Linked DNA regions of Homo sapiens: all the other regions are linked to region 1. Evidence: promoter capture Hi-C in 16 types of primary human blood cells and fetal thymus (Javierre and others, 2016). All regions are on one chromosome and are shown on one strand. The core of a region is centred on a gene start or on the middle of the fragment in contact, and the rest is flanking DNA. Distances in the headings are between cores, read along the strand shown.

Region 1 (3,140 bases), core at 384-2,883:
ACTTCACTTTATATATGCTTATAGAACAAAAATTAACTTGAAAGTTTTAAAAAATATTTCTCTGTCGAAGCAAATATCTACTTCTTTTAAAATAGTGTGAGCCTGTGAAAACATGGTATTATGTATTTGACATTTTCCATCTAAAAATACATTATGAAGCAAGCATGCTGGTATTAATAAACCATGTGCTTTCAGAACCCTGAAGTGCTTTTCTATAATTTTGTTGAAAACAGAATAAGATGATATATTTTCCACCATGCTATTAACATAAAGCAAACAAATTTTATGTCATTGCCTTGCCAGCTTGTCTTGATTGGAAAGTGTACAAAAAAAAAAACTTTTAGGAGTTTATAAATATTCGTGACCATAGTCTGGTTTATGAGTTAACAATCCATAAGTAAACATAGATAACTTAGAAAAATTTAGTCAAAAATACATTACAAAAAAGAAAAGAAACCATGTATATTTCCTTTTTCCTTACCCCACCCCCATCATAGTCAGAAAAATCACCCTCCCTTTGCAGGAGGGTACTATCCTTCCTTCCACCACTTTAGTTATCTGAAGGCAAATGAAAATACAATGATCCTTTTCGTTTTCTGATTTAGCTTACAACGCAAACATTTTAACACAAACATAAACTACTGACTTCACGGAAAGCACCAAACAGAAAGAGCAAGATTCACTGACCCATTTGGAAGACAAAGACGACAGAGCGGGAAAGCTCTAAAAATCAGCTTGTGAGGCCTCTGAGAGATATTCTTCTGGCATTTCATCACAGCAGCCCCAGACCAGCTCACCTCCCTAGATACAAGGAGGAGGCACTAAATGGAGCTGTTTATTAAAGCTGCTGTGCTGGATTGCATTAGGAAGCGCGAGCAGACCACCTGGACCTTTCAAGATTGTGACAGTGTTTAATTTGCAGCCTGCCCTTCTGCAGCAGCCAAGACTACTACTACATTTACCGGGCTCAATCACACATTATCTGGGTTAGAAGTCAAGGCACATGTATTTATATATTTATATTTCCCATATGGAGAAAGGGAGAGAGGGAGAGAAAGAGAGAAGGAGAGAGCACAGTCAAAATAAAAATATTGAACAGCATTAGAAAAATATTAACTACTACCTAGGAAACCACACTTGATTCTCTTCTCGCACTTTCTTTCAGAGATCAAAATCCAAAAAGAAAGCAAATTTCTAAAATAGATTTTTAAGAAACATTCAGACCAAATTATAAATTAGATTTATTCTCCAGTGTTTTTGTTGTTGTTTTAGTTTTTGTTTAAAAGGATCGCATTGAAGTTTTAAGCTGAGGTTTCCCTGGTCAGATTTAATGGGTGCCTTTTGCCTTTCGCACTTTCAGCACTACACTGGCAGGTAGCTGAAGATACAGATAGAAAGATGGTACTGTAAATATGAATTATGTGAATCATATGGTGAGACCCTTGTGGAAAAAAGGGGAGTTGAGAAATGGCTGACTCCATACCTGACCAATTACAGCTTGCATGGTCCCCGTGTCCTGCTGCGCTGAGAGATAGCAATCCATCATATGTTGTCTTTGAAAAGGAGAATGGGGGTTTCTGGCATGCATCTGTCAATCAACTTCTGCACTCACAACCATCACCAAAAGCAAGGGGAAAAAAAGTCAAGCTGCTCCACCAAATAGAATGAAACCGTCATGTGACCTCCGGCAGACACGCACACACACATTCACTACCTCCACAGAGCGTAAGAATTTTCTGTAGATATGAAATGACATTGACAAATATCCAATACCAAGTAAATAAAGTGAGACAAACAGCTATTCACCAAAGACAAAAACATGGGCTGTAATCTTCCGCTAAAGGTTTAACAAACCTATGAGGATTGTTTTTAATGCTCTAGAAATCTATGTTTAAAACAAAACAAAAACAAAATGAACTATCTCAAATGAGTGTCCATTAAGACTTTGATTTTTGTGCTATTATATACATTTTTAAAATTACAGTTCATTGCTCTACTTTTCTTAAGGGGTCCCTAATGATTTTATTTTTAAAATCTCTAAATGACCTTTTGATAATATGCAGTTATCTCTGTTGTTTTATATAAGGACACCTTTTCAGAGAAGCTTGAAATGTGAACTGCTACATAACAAACACCCTGATATTTGTGAATTGGAAGTGGACATAGAAAATAATCCGTGTAAATGATGATGACCACTGTAATATAAAATATTCAAAGTGTGTAAATAGCAGTCACTAAACTTTTTATCTTCTGAAAGGTAAGGGATGATTTACTTGCAGCTCATCTAAACTGATGTAATGTGTTTTTAATGTGATGACAAGTATTTTAACTTTCTAAATTTAATTTTAACTATCTGATTCCTCACAATCTAGGGACAGATTGCTAATGCATTATGGGTCAGTTATTGTTAAGGGTGAAAAGAATATAACTTACCAACTTTTTAACCTTCTTAGGCTAAAGATCGGAACCTGACTTTCAAGACAATCCTACAGGTATTGTAAAGTTGCTCTCCAAAAACCCAAACCCATAAACACCATCCGTTAACTTGGTGGCTTTGTGGCAGTGAAGAACATTCGCATTTGCCTACTTTTTTTCTTTTTTTTTTTCATTTGCCTACTTTTTAACTGAAGTTCATTAGTTAGTATACTCTCCCTAACTTTTCAAAACAAATTTATGGGAAAACCTTGTGTTAATATTAAAATGGAGATTTTTTTCAAGGCTCTAAACTGATGACAGGTCGGGTAGCAATGAGAAATATTTAATACAGAATATATACTATTATGTATATTATTGCATAATACCCACGGCTTGAAAATTAATCAAAAGGAACTTCAAGTAAGAAAAAAAAAACAAAACAATTTTCAACATTGTTAAAGAAATCTTTAGGAGCAAAGAATGAAGGACCGAAGCGCGCGCGCACACACACACAAACACACACACACAGACACAGACACACACACAGTTAAATCAGCATCCCCAAATAAAATGAGACCGTGCACCAACTGGGTAGCCCTCCTGGGAGCTGAGGGCTAACTGAGGAAAGGCCCTTCTCAACATCATTAAATGTCCCGTCTGCGCTGAAGTCCTACCCGGGGGTTTCTGCAGTTATCCCAGATCAGAACCTCAGGCTTCCCATCATC
Region 2 (3,140 bases), core at 250-2,749, 480 kb before region 1:
CCATCAATTTCAGTAAATTTGAGTACTTGTCCAAGGACTGTGGCAGACTATATTACTCTTCTGGGCTGAGAACTATGGAAACTCTAGTTGTCGTGAAACAAAACAAAACAAAACAAAACAAAACAAAACAAAACAAAACCCACAAAACCAGAACATTTGCACGCCAAATGCCCATTTTCAAGGACTTTTAAATAAAGATGTTAATATCTGTGGGGAGCTTGGAGCTTCATGTACAGATTTTCTCATTACTGGGGAGGGATCTTCTCCAGCCTGAGGAAAATGGACTCTGTCAACAGAATCAGCAAAACAGGTATAGATTGTCTTTTATCTTCACATTAAAACAACAACGACAAAAGTCCTGTAGAATGTCATTACTCATAATTTTGTTGTAGAAAGATTGGAAAGTGGTACAACTACTGCAATCAGTCTAATTATTTTTGAAAAGTAACTTCTGGGAGTCTGGAATGGAGGGAGGGGCAGTTCCAGCCTCAGAAACAGTTCCAGCCTCTATGGAGTTTACAGTCTATAGGGGGTTGGCATCCAATGCTAATGCATTAGAAACAATTAGAGAAAAGTGTCAGGCAGAGTATAATCAAGAACTAATGGTATGACATCCACACCGGGTGTGCAGAGACAGGAGAGTGGAGAGGAGGGAGGATTCATCTAGGTCTTCCCAATGGGCAGTTTTCAGAGAATGAAGGAGCCATATAGTCTGGTCAGTGGTGACAGCGTGCACACAGGCAGAAATGCAGGGAGGAGCAGGGCACCGTAGGGACCTGTCAGGTTGGTAGGGTGAAGCAGGAGTTCGTGCTAGGAGTAGTGAATATTTCAGTGTAGCACACTGAGAATCTATGAGCTCGGGCGGGGCAGGGGTGGGCAGTGACTATAAAATTGGTTTGACTGTTAAGATGAATGGAAGTCCTGTTTTTTTCTCCCAAAACTACTCCCAGAAGGCAGGCAACCCTTGGCTAATGAGATTTGTTCGGGCCGTCCCTAGTGGAGGCTGTGCTCTGGATTCCAAACCCCACGAGCACATCAGCCTGGAGCTGCTTCCGGGCTCGCTAAGGATTGTGGGAGCTCACTTCGGCAGTCGCAGTCTCGAGCCCTTTTTTCCTTTCCCCGTGAAAGAAATCCCTAGAGCAAAAGTTGCAAATGAGCAGTGTGCAAATAAAACCCAGCTTTCCTAGTGTTTACATAAAAAAAAAAGCACTTGCTAACATGTAAACATTTATTTCTAAAGGAAAATCTTCATTTCCCAAACTCTTCTGAATGTTAGAAGATTTGGCTGCTCCGGATGTACATTTGCACTTGGTAATGTCCAGTGGGCTGGAACTGATTCTGGCTGCTCCTTCAGCTCCTCCTCATGTTCACACCACCCAGCCTCCAACCTGCTCCCTGCTCAGCCCGTTTTGTGACCCTGCGTTTAAAGCATGCGTTTCCAGTGAGGCTGATATTGGTTCTGAGGGGGAGGCAGGAAAAGTCTTAGTACAATGGTGTGGTCCCCCAAAGGGCCATAGTACATCAACAGGGCAGATGTGCAACATATCTGTGGTATTAAAATGTTATGGGGGGGCGGGGTGGGGAGGAAGGAGGGCAATTAAGATAAAAACAAAACACCTAAAAATGCTGCTTGCAGGGGGAGTGGGGTGATAATAAAATAATAGCTGAGAAACTCTGGTTTAGAGCAGAGAGTACAGAATGGTACAGTGAGAGAGGGGTCTGGCCTCTCTGAGAGAGGGAAGAAGGGTTTGGCAGTCTTGCAAGGGTGTGAGCATGGAGGTTTGAAACTGAAAAGATGGAAAGCTGGAGACGTTCCATGTAACAATATCACTTTTAGGACTGTGATTTTCTTAATTTGGCAGGTATAAGAGTCACTGCTTTGGGCCCAGGGATGTGCATTTTTAACAAGTAACACAAGCGATTCTGATGCAGGGGATCTGCTGACAACTACAGAAAGAAATCTTTCTTTGTGGCCCTGGCTTGACCAAGTCTGGGTGTGGTGCACTCTGTGTGCCATTGTCTTTACTGATCCTTTACCATTATTCAGCAGGCTTCACTACACAGAAAACTTGCTCTCTCACCTGTATAGGACTGACGGGCCAGACAGGTCTGTTGAGGAGGGGCTCCGGAGCAGGCATCCCACCCTGGCCCTTTCCTTACCCCACTGTCACTACTTATGGCAAGTGGCCAAGATCTGGGAATCAGCGGGCTGGGAAAGTAAAATTTTTGCCTTTGTTAGCCCCATCTCTAGATCAGCGAGATTCAGTTGGATTAACCAGTATGTGAGGGGCAGGTCTTTAATCTGGAAGGGTTTCCATGGTCTACTCCAGTCCCAAGGCCTGTGTTGCCACCAGACACTGGCACAGGATTCGGCAGCCCAATGACTTGGGCTGACATTTTATGTAAATGTGTCCTCTAATCTTTCTTCCCTTCCTCTGCCGTCTCTATTGTTTATGTGTCCTTACTAGTTCCTTGAGTCTATCAACTAAATCCGTATGTGTGATCGTGCAGGCTGCTTTTTGTCAGATCACTGACAATAACAAGAGTTGAAAAGGAAGCTGTGGACTTTTAGTCTGTGTGCATTGATGCTGTTGTGTGGATTATCAAACTTTCACTTTAAAGCTCAGAGGGATGGGAGCCTGGGCTACTGAGCCCAGTATCTTCCATGAGGCCCCCAAGAAACAGTTATTCCACCAGGAAACTGAATTCCTTCTTCTTCCTCTGACAGTTTCCACTCTTGTATTTTCTCCTGGTTCTACTTAGCTCCGTGATAAAATAGAAATTCTTATGAAATTTAAACAGGGTGATGGTCCATTGGACAAAGTAGCATCTCTCTGCAAAATTTGTTGACTGCCAGAGGTGAACACTCAGATTTCTTTATATTAGTGTTCTTATCCAGAAAACTCAGATGGCAAAATATTATTGTTACCGTTTTGCTCCATGGGTTCTGAGACTACAAAAGTCTTCCCATTCAAAATGGGGTCCACTTCTAGATAAACATTAGCTTTACCCTGATTACTACCTGTGGGACTTGTCTTCACACTTTGGGAGAATTCATTAGATGCTGTCTGTAAGATGTTTTGAATTCATCAAAAGACGAATGCTCTTTTTTTAATCCCAAAGTTTCTGTCTTAAACTCT
Region 3 (3,140 bases), core at 388-2,887, 440 kb before region 1:
CTCAAACATATATTACTTTTTCAATTTCCTGTTAGTAATTTTTTTTAATGTTCTTTAGGGTGAGACCACAGAATTTCTCATTTCTCACAACAAAGACCGTAACTCATAAGAATTACGCTGATGAGTTTTTCTCGTAAAATTGCATCCCCATTTTCATAGGTGAACAATCTGCAGCCTTATCCCTAATGATTAGGCAGTTTTTGATAGATGTATGGAAAGAGGGCTGGATATACTCTTCCAATTGTGGTTTCTCATAGTTTTCTAATTCCTACTTTAAATGTCCCTCAGAAAAAGAGTATTTGCAAGGCACTTCAAATTTGGTCCTTGTGAAATATGATTTCTTATTGCTAATAAACCAATCGATAAATGTAATGATTTTCTGACTGTCCTGTTTTAAGCTCAATAATTTATAATTTATGCTGATAGCATGAATTTTGGCATTTTTAATCTCAAAAGTTAGTTTCAAAGTACAGCCTTGTCAGGAACATGTCTCACAGCCTTGCCAGATGATATCATTCATAGACTAGCCCTATATATTATTAAGTAATGGAAAAGGTGGAATAATGATACTTACATCAAAGATCCATTGACATGTTTAGCTACAAAACCATTAACTTAATCCATAACTCAGAATTTAAAAAAATCTATTTAACTTTGCTAAAAAAATTGGAGCATTTTAAGCAATGTTTGTAGTATCATATTTGGTTTCTGAGAAGGTAAGTTTTTAGTACTTTCTGATTCACCTAGGTTCTGGATTTCAGGAACCAGTCTAGATGTGCAAAACCATAGATACTATTCCCATTTCTACTGCCTTATCTCCATGTGAGCCTAGAGGGGCAGAAACTCTACTTTTCAAATATTTAGAAATGTGTATGATTTTATGGTCTCAGAAATCAAAATGAATTCTCAGAGTCTGGAGTAGCACACTATGTCATTTCCTTTTGTGTTCATTTAAGGAATTTGTGTATCACCTTTTAAACATAAACATTCTTTCTTTCAGTAATGTTACCCTTTGTATTAAAAATCCTAAATAGTTCTTTTATAACCCAGTAATACTGAGAAGATCCTCATATAAAGAAGGCTTCCATTCTAAACTTGCAAGAAAATCTTCAAATTCCATGTGAATTTAAAACAGATTTTTGGTTTTGTCCATGTTATTTGTTCCTTCCTTTTGGTTATCTAGGATAGTTTGCTGACATTACTTGCAGATTTACTGAAGGCAGATGGGAATGTTTTCATTCTAGACCATCAGAGGAAATCAACAGTTGTTAAATGAGCCTAGCAGGTAATATCTCTGTGGCCCTGCCTTTTGATTAAATAAATTACAACATTTTGTTACGGAGAAAAGTGAATGCTATTATGTCTAGCAGCCACATAGTCATGTCATAGAGGCAAGCTAGGCATCATCTAGCCTGTTGCTGCTGCTGCTGCTAATCTGAAGAAAACAAGATTGTCCAGCTTACCCGGTCACTAATGTGTGGGCAGCTGACTCAAAATCATCAAACTGGTCTTCTCTGCATGCTGGCGGGACCATGGGTTTCAAGACAGATGCGAGTGCCAAGGATTTAACATCCTTTGTTACTTTTACTTTTTACAACAACCCCAAAATGTTAGCTGTTAAAACAATTGAAGTGAGTTAACTAAATAAACAATTGCCATTTTCATGAGATATAGTAATGCTGGATGACCCACTTAAAAGCATATCCACATAAAACTTCAATATATTAAACAGACCCTACTTTAGGCCAGGCATGGTGGCTCACTCCTGTAACCCCAGCACTTTGAGAGGCTGAGGTGGGCGGATCACTTGAGGTCAGGAGTTTGGGACCAGCCTAGACAACATGGTGAAACTCCATCTCTATTAAAAAATACGAAAATTAGTGGGCCGTGATGGTGCGTGCCTGTAATCCCAGCTACTCAGGAGACTGAGGCAGGAGAATCGCTTGAACCTAGCAGGCAGAGGTTGCAGTGAGCAGAGATGGCAACACTGTACTCCAACCTGGGCGACAGAGTGAGATTCAGTCCCAAAAAACAAGCAAAAAACCCAAACAGACTCTACTTTAGATCAGCCACCCTGAGTGGGTTAAAAAATATATACATATATACGTATATATATGTGTATATATACACATATATACGTATATATATGTGTATATATACACATATATACGTATATATGTGTATATATACACATATACGTATATATGTGTGTATATATGTGTATATATGTGTATACATATATATGTATATATACACACATATATATACATATATACACATATATACACATATATACACATATATATACATATATACACATATATATACATATATACATATATACACATATATACATATATACATATATATATACACACACACACACATGAAGAGAGCACTATATTTATGAAATGACTACTATATGGTAGGCACTGTATTAGGCACTTACACACGTTATGCTGAAAGCAGCTTTGCTTCAGAGGAAAGCTGGGCTTCAAAGCAGCCAGATCTGGGCTCAAATCCAGGCTCTATCATTTACTGTATGGCTCTGGAAAGTTGGTTAACTTTTCTTTCTTTTTCTTTTTTTTTTTTTGAGACAGAGTCTCACTCTGTCACCCAGGCTGGAGTGCAATGGTGCGATCTCAGCTCACTGCAACCTCCGCCTCCTGGGTTCAAGTGATTCTCTTGCCTCAGCTTCCCAAGTAGCTGGGACTACAGGTGCCTGCCTCTATACCTGGCTAATTTTTGTGTTTCTAGTAGAGACATGGTTTCACAATGTTGGCCAGGCTGGTCTCGAATTCCTGACCTGAAGTGATCTGCCTGCCTCAGCCTCCCAAAATGCTGGGATTACAGGCGTGAGCCACCGTGCCTGACCTGTTTAACTTTTCTGAGCCTTCAGTTCCTCAGCTGTAAATTAGAGATGATAGTGCAAAATCATTGTGAGAATGAAATGAAATGATGAATTTATGCAAAAATGCTTATTGACTAGCATATTAGCATATATGAAATACTCCATTCAGGCCACAGATTTTATTACTGTATTTATGGTCTTTATGTGCCAGATGCCGTTCTAGCCATTTGGTTCTAGCTGCAGTGAACAAAACAAAATACTTTAAATTATTATTACAGTACAGTGATTA

What was found. Contacts are between HindIII fragments. The CHiCAGO score rates a contact against its expected background, and 5 or more counts as called.
Region 2: a contact is called between a fragment that was not itself captured here and the fragment with the promoter of POU6F2 in region 1, in 1 of 17 cell types (M2 macrophages). The highest score is 5.9, in M2 macrophages.
Region 3: a fragment that was not itself captured here is called in contact with the fragment with the promoter of POU6F2 in region 1 in 1 of 17 cell types (M2 macrophages); the score reaches 5.3 in M2 macrophages.

The regions. Positions count from the first base shown.
Region 1 is chr7:38,976,402-38,979,541 of GRCh38, reverse strand. POU6F2 (POU class 6 homeobox 2) reads right to left here and starts at 1,633. Exons shown (of 10, transcript NM_001370959.1): 1 at 1,484-1,633. The coding sequence starts at 1,588. The HindIII fragment of the contact is 7,072 bases long and covers 1-2,106 here.
Region 2 is chr7:39,456,452-39,459,591 of GRCh38, reverse strand. The region is part of intron 8 of POU6F2 (POU class 6 homeobox 2); the gene reads right to left. All of the region lies in intron 2 of LOC105375238 (a long non-coding RNA gene), which reads left to right. Among named protein-coding and RNA genes, the nearest start is that of POU6F2-AS1, 52 kb to the right of the region's middle. The HindIII fragment of the contact is 5,036 bases long and covers 1-3,140 here.
Region 3 is chr7:39,418,143-39,421,282 of GRCh38, reverse strand. The region is part of intron 6 of POU6F2 (POU class 6 homeobox 2); the gene reads right to left. The region is part of intron 2 of LOC105375238 (a long non-coding RNA gene); the gene reads left to right. Among named protein-coding and RNA genes, the nearest start is that of POU6F2-AS1, 13 kb to the right of the region's middle. The HindIII fragment of the contact is 4,321 bases long and covers 1-3,140 here.